Regions from separate parts of the Homo sapiens genome. Here region 1 is linked to region 2. Evidence: promoter capture Hi-C in 16 types of primary human blood cells and fetal thymus (Javierre and others, 2016). All regions are on one chromosome and are shown on one strand. Each heading gives the region's core, a stretch centred on a gene start or on the middle of the fragment in contact. The rest is flanking DNA. Distances are from core to core; before and after follow the strand shown. Region 1 overlaps PHACTR4 (phosphatase and actin regulator 4). Region 2 holds the start of OPRD1 (opioid receptor delta 1).

Region 1 (3,564 bases), core at 39-2,538, 400 kb before region 2:
ACCAAATACTACCCATTCCCCAAAACCTATTGAAGTAAAAAATGACATAAAAAAGGAAAAAAAGAAAACAGAAACCACCCAAAAGAAAGAAAGAAAGAACGAATGAACAAAAGAAAGAAAGAACGAATGAACAAAAGAAAGAAAGAAAGAGAAAGAAAGAAAGAATTATTTGTGGTATTCTGGAAATAAAAGTAGTGAGGGATTTTTACGAATAAAGTACCAGAAGGATAGACCTAAGGTCTCTAGGACCTTTTCTACCTGGACAGATGCTTACACATTTCATTATATAATATTTAAATATCATGTTCGTTAATATCACTATTGGTCTCGTTGAAAAAAATGTTAAATGTTGGGAAGCTGTCAAGCTCATTCTGGATGTAAATTTTCCAAAATAGGAATTTCACTTGAAAGCTTGAATTCTATCACTAGCAACAAATACTGTTAATTTTCTTTATTAGTGACAGGCTTACTTTTGAGAAAATGCCTGTCAGCTATCTAAGCTTGAATAACATAGCTTGTTGTTCAGTCTTTCAAGTAAAAATAGTATTCCATGAAGAAAACTGTCTAGTTCAGTTTGCAACTCAGTCACACAAATGCCTTTCCTGGAGATAACCATCATACTTAGTATACAAATGTGCTTTATACATATTTCTGTTTCATCATAAACAGTAATAAAAATATATGTACTAAAGGGTTGATATTTATTAAAACTAATATTTTTTATTGCTTTATCAAGGACATTCTTAAAGTTGAATTTATTTTTCACTGTAACTGTGTAGTTGTGAAGAATACAATGATTTCTGCTACAGTTTGGTGCTGTTGCCTTGATTTGTGTTAAGGTGCTAACAGTTTTGCTCACCATTGCTTTTGTACCATCAGTGCAAGTGTCAACACAGTGGAAAAGGCAAATAATTTTTTTGTATTCTTATGTATTTAGTTTTACCTCTTGGACTTCTGAAAGGATCTCAGGGATCCCCAGAGATCAGCAGATTATACTTGCTTCATTTTCCTGAGGTTCCTAGAGGCCCTTCTATGGAAGTCATGAGTAAAGTTAAGATTTAATCCTGGAGATTGTATTGGGCAGGGTTTCAGTGTGGACTAGGTCTTGGACATTTGACAGAAATATGGTCAGAGGGAGTGATTAGCTCTGTGGTTTCTCCTAAGCAGGAGTACCCTGCACCACTACCCCCGGGCCACAGGAGGTGAGCAGTGGGCCAGTGAGCATTACAGTCTGAGCTCCACCTCCTGTCAGATCAGTGATTAGGTGGAACAGTTTCATCCCAAACCACCCCAACACCCCCGTCTGTAGAAAAATTGTCTTCCATGAACCTGGTCCCTGGTGCCAAAAAGGTTGGGGACCGCTGGGTTAAAGAAACTTTTGTGGAGCGAAATGAGTCTGGAACTCATTAGGCAATCAAGTATGTTCAAAGAAGAAATCCATAAGCATTTAGTCAAGACAGGCTGAGGGCCAGGCTCACCTGGGTACTGTGTTCTTAGCTTTAAAAAGGATAAATAGCAGCAGAGATATTGGTGATGACAGCTTTCAATATATCTCTTGAGTCACATTGCTCCAGTCTGTGTACAGGTGGCCTTGCAGTCTGTAGAGGTGGTACGCAACTGTCATCCTGGGTTATCCAGTCTCCATTTTCCTGACAGCTTTGCTTCTTTCCTGTGTTAGCTCCTTTGTTTCCTAAACCCTCATGTCTTCCTCTGTCTTGGTTGCCAGTAGCTTTTTGATGTTGAACCTCCTGGAATAATTATCTAATTCATTTCTTTTTCCTTTAGATATGTTTCCTGCAAGATTTATTCAACTTTATCTTCTACTTTTATTAAATTTTTCTTTTCTACTATTAGAGTTTAATCTCCAGGAGGTCTTTTTGAAGTCTCTGCATGTTTCTTTTTATACTATCCTTTCATTCTTTCAACAGATTTTCCTTGCCCTGCATAGTCTCTTTTTTTCCTAACATTGTTTTTAAATATTGATTTGGTTTCTTTTATGTTAGAGTTTTTCTCTGATGTCTAGTAATAATTAACTGTCTGCTGATGGTTAAAAGTGAGGGACTAAATAGCCAGTTAGAAGCTTTAAATGTATAGGCAGGTTGCCTTTGGGTGAGCTTCTTGGCCTTATTGTTGATGAACATTCTCATATCAGTATCAGGGTCTAAGGGGCACAGTCTTCCCACTGTGTTTGGATGGTAAGGGGTGAAGAAAACTGACTGAAGAGACTGCTGCATTCAGCATTAATTATGCATATTTTCACTTAATTCTCTTCCATTTTTAATTTTACTTGTATTTGTATTTTATTTTACTTTATTTTTATCTTTTGAGATGGAGTCTTGCTCTGTCACCCAGGCTAGAGTGCAGTGGCGCCATCTCAGCTTACTGCAACCTCTGCCTCCTGGGTTCAAATGATTCTCCTGGCCTCAGCCTCCCGAGTAACTGGGATTACAAGCACCCATCACTGCCTGGCTAATTTTTGTAGTTTTAGGGTTTCACCATGTTGGCTAGGCTGGTCTCGAACTCCTGACCTCAGGTGATCCGCCTGCCTCGGCCTACCAAAGTGCTGAGATTACAGGCATGAGCCTCTGCAGCTGGCCTTATTTTCTTTTTCATTTTATTTTTTTATTTTTATTTTTTGGGGTCAGTCTTCCTCTGTCTCAAAAAAAAAAAAAAAAAAAAAAGCACCGCAGCCTCGACCTCCTGAGCTCAAACAATTCTCCCACCTCTGCCTCCCAAGTAGCTGGGACTATAGGCACATACCACCATGCCTGACTAATTTTTTTACTTTTTGTAAAGATGCAGTCTCCCTATGTTGCCCAGGCTGGTCTTGAACTCCTGGGCTCAAGTGATTCTCCCACCTCGGCCTCCCCAAAAGTTGAGATTACAGGCATGAGCCATTGCACCCAACCCCTTCCATTTTTTGTACCATATCCCTACCATCAGTTGCCTTTTGCGACCCCTTTCCAGAGACCATTTGCTTTACACTTTCTTGGAAAACAGATTCCAAAATTCCGCCAGAGTTAGTGTAGGACAGACATTGAAGATCATGGAGTAGGGAAAGTGATAGAGGAATCAAACAGCTTTTACCTTGCTTCTCCTGATTTTAGGTCACCTCCCTTTCATCTCATTTCAGAGACCTGGATAAAATACAATGAATGTATTACTTGTTAACCTATACTGGTGTATACTACCAGTTAAAAGAAAAAATTAGGCTGGGCGCGGTGGCTCACCCCCGTAATCCTAGCACTTTGGGAGGCCGAGGTGGACGGTTTGCCTGAGCTCAGGAATTCGAGACCAGCCTGGGCAACAAGGTGAAACCCCGCCTCTACTAAAATACAAAAAATTACCCAGGCATGATGGCGTGCTACTGTAGTCCCAGCTACTTGGGAGGCTGAGGCAGGAGAATTGCTTGAACCCGGGAGGCGGAGGTTGCAGTGAGCCAAGATCACGCCACTCCACGCCAGCCTGGGCAACAGAGCGAGACTCTGTCTCAAAAAAAAAAAAAAGAGAGAGAAAAGAAAGAAAAAAATTCATGGCTACACTGTACATAAGTGCTGAGTGAAG
Region 2 (3,547 bases), core at 697-3,196:
AAATACATGGGAAACTATTAATATGTAAAGAAGAAGTACGTGATGCTACTGCATAATAAGGAGAGCTGGGCTAGTTGGAGGTGGGGTGGGGATCAGGGAAGGTTTCACAAAGGAAGTGATATTTAAGCTGAAATTTGAGGGGTAAATAACGCTTAGGCTGGGGTATTGGCCCAGCCTTCCGAGTGGAAGGAATAGCATGTACAAATGTCCTGAGGTAGGAAAAAACTTGGCTTGGAGGGTTAGGGAGGGGACCAGAATTCCAATAAAGTAGCCCTCCTTCTTCCTATCCCAATTTCTCTCTGCTGGCACTAGAAAAGTTTCTGAGTACCAGGCCCTTTGGGAAAGGGAGAGAGTTTTGGCAGCAGGTGACCACAGCAAAAATCTTTCTGATAAGTCCTTAGGTGGTTGAGTGGGAAAGCCCTGGGGTGGGGGGCTTGCTGTAGTTGGTAGAAGTGGCTGGACAGCAGCTAAGTGGGGTGGAGAAAATGGAGAAGAGGGTGAGCTTGGGAATTCTGGCTTTGCTTTTTTCTGGGAAAGGGTAGGAGCCTTGCACATATATGGATGATTCAAGCTAGAGGGTGAGATGAGGGAGAGCTCCTTGTCCAGCCACACACAGATCCAAGAGCATTGCCCCAGAGCCTAGAGCTCAGAACCCCTAATATTGTTCCACTCCAGTTCCCTTTGGGATCTTTATTATCCAAAAAGTATTTCTTGAGCACCTGCTGTGACCCCAGCCCTCTCCTGGATGCAGGGGTCAATCAGACCTGGTCCCTTTAAGGAGGGAGACCAGTTCGGATAGAAATAATTACTATATGGGATAATTTAGTGCTGAGCACTAAATCTGTAACATGGGGACAATAATAATAGAAGCTACACCAAAGTGTTGGTGCATGGATAAAGTGCTTATCACAGTGCCTGGAGCAAAGTAATGCTTGGTAGAATGTTCTGGAAAGGCTAGGCACCCCAAGAAGAAGGATGGCTCTAATCTGGAATGGTTAGGTCTTGGAAGGGGTGTGGCAAGGATGACTTAGCCAAGTGCCCCCCTTCTATCTGCTCGCACTGCAGCCAGAGTGCTCCTTAAGGTGGTCTTCAAGAGCCTGCCCACCACCTCATCGCCCCCTCACTTCCTGCCTTCTCCTCTTCCTGGCTTCCTTTCAGTCCCTCTGCTTCCTTTATCCGGAATCCTCTTCCCTTGTTACTTCCTTAAGTTAGTTCTTCCCCAAACTTCACACCTCACCTCAAGTGTCGTTTCCCCAGGGAAGCTGTCCTGACCCCTGGGTTTTGTAGACCCTGCCACTTTCTCAATTCGTACCTATATCTTAATGTCATTTTAGGGTTGCTCGCTCTCTCTCCTGCACTGGGCTGTAAGCCCCAGGAAGCAGAGGCTGCATCTGGTTTTGTGTACTAGAGGGTCCCCCCAAATACCCGGCTCTTCTATTAGGCACCCTCAGAATTTTTGTTGAGCGAATGAATGGGGTGCAAGAAAGGCACGGATAATATAGGTTATTTACGGAGCATGTAACTGTCCGCAGGGCACTGCTCTAAGCTCTTTGTTCGAATCATTTTATTCAATCTCCCCAACCACCCTCTGAGGGAGGTGGTACGATTTTCCTCATCTCACAGACAAAGAGAATGAAGCTGAGGGAGGTTAAGTGACTTACACAAGGTCACTCCGCCTGTTAGTGCAGGGGCGGGAGGCGGGATCCACACCCAGGTCCCTCTGACACCAAAGTGGCAAGGGGGTGGGAGGGGAGTCCAGGTTGGGACGGGGTCGCACTCGAGCCGGCGGAGCATCCCTAGGGAGGGGGCGGGAGGCCTCCCCTGCCCAGCTCCGAGCCGGTGGTGCAGCGTCCGCCCCCGGTCGCGGGCGCAGACTGGCGGCCGCCTCCGGGCCACGTGGTGCGCGCGGCGGGCGCGTCCGAGGAGCCTGCGGCTGCTCCTGGCTCACAGCGCTCCGGGCGAGGAGAGCGGGCGGACGCCGGGGGCTGGGCCGGTGCGGGCGGCGAGGCAGGCGGACGAGGCGCAGAGACAGCGGGGCGGCCGGGGCGCGGCAGCCGGCGGCGTCGGGGCCGCGGCCTCTGCCTTGCCGCTCCCCTCGCGTCGGATCCCCGCGCCCAGGGCGCACGGTGGAGAGGGACGCGGCGGAGCCGGCCGGCAGCCATGGAACCGGCCCCCTCCGCCGGCGCCGAGCTGCAGCCCCCGCTCTTCGCCAACGCCTCGGACGCCTACCCTAGCGCCTGCCCCAGCGCTGGCGCCAATGCGTCGGGGCCGCCAGGCGCGCGGAGCGCCTCGTCCCTCGCCCTGGCAATCGCCATCACCGCGCTCTACTCGGCCGTGTGCGCCGTGGGGCTGCTGGGCAACGTGCTTGTCATGTTCGGCATCGTCCGGTGAGTCCGCTGCGGGCCGGCGCCGCAGGGCTGGAGCCCGGGGTGAGGGTGGGGATCACGAACTTGAGACCCCAAGCCCGTTCCCTGGACTCCCCGCGCCTCCGCATTTCCTGCAGGGGCACCTGGGGCCCAGCGAGAGGCGAGGCCACTTACATCGAGGGGAACACAGGAATGTGTGTCATCGTGTGTATGTGTGTGTGTGGTGCGGGGGGGGGAGTGCGCCGCGGTTGACTAAATTACATTTGATCATCTGTTGGCATCCCCTTGCTTCTTTGTGGGACAGTTTGGCGTCAGTTTGTGTGTCTGTCACAGTTTGTGAGTGGATGGTTGTGACAGTACAACTGTATGTTTGGACGTCGGAAACATGCCCATGGGGTGGGCAGAGCTGCTCTGAGGTGCCGCGGGCCTTTGGGGAGACCGGTGTGAGGGCACCGTGCAGGCAGGGCGGACAGGAGGGTGCTGGGTGTCAGCACCTCGCCGTGGGGCCCTTACCAAGTCATATTTGGTGCTCATCTGTTGGTGTGAGCTTGTCCCTAACGGTCAGTTTGTGATTCTGTCTGAATGTAACAATGTGACTGTTGTTTCTTGTCAAGCTCTTGAAACCCCGAGGGCGGCAGAGCATCCGGAGTGGCCGTCGTCCCTGTGTTTGTGCAGCTGTGTGTGCCTTTGCCAGTGATTCCTGGATAACATGGGCGACAGCTGTGGGCCGCCAACCGGTTCTCTGTTCCCTTCGCCAGTGCCCATCTGGTCAGGAATTCTGAATAGGATTCAGAGAAGACTCACGCCCTCCTCACAAATGCCCTCTCCCATTTTCTCTTTGCCTCCTCTAACAGTCTTTTCTTCTGCCAGAGGCAGCAGAGGTTGGTCTGGGCGGGAGTGGATTTTGAGTTTTCATCCCAGGAAGTGAGGTGCTCTTCTTGGAGTTTATGGAGAGTGCTGGGACCTTCTCAGAGAGCCTAAGACGTCAGCTTGCCCCAGAAGTAGCCCTCCTGATACAGCCCCACAAGCTCAGACATGGCCAGTAAGGGTTGAGAGGAAAATTTCCATCTTTAAAACAACAAAGATGCCCTCGTATTTGCTGTTAGTTGAAAATGGGTCCTTCATGCTGGTGGACCAAGGACATGGCCCTAAACCTCTCTGGGCTGTGGGTGCCACCATGC

Evidence for each region. Contacts are between HindIII fragments. The CHiCAGO score rates a contact against its expected background, and 5 or more counts as called.
Region 1: a contact is called between a fragment that was not itself captured here and the fragment with the promoter of OPRD1 in region 2, in 6 of 17 cell types (activated CD4 T cells, naive CD4 T cells, naive CD8 T cells and 3 more). The highest score is 7.2, in activated CD4 T cells.

What each region holds. Positions count from the first base shown.
Region 1 is chr1:28,411,769-28,415,332 of GRCh38, forward strand. The region is part of intron 2 of PHACTR4 (phosphatase and actin regulator 4); the gene reads left to right. Among named protein-coding and RNA genes, the nearest start is that of PHACTR4, 44 kb to the left of the region's middle. The HindIII fragment of the contact is 1,580 bases long and covers 499-2,078 here.
Region 2 is chr1:28,810,224-28,813,770 of GRCh38, forward strand. It overlaps OPRD1 (opioid receptor delta 1), which reads left to right and starts at 1,947. Exons shown (of 3, transcript NM_000911.4): 1 at 1,947-2,387. The coding sequence starts at 2,161. The HindIII fragment of the contact is 20,164 bases long and covers 1-3,547 here.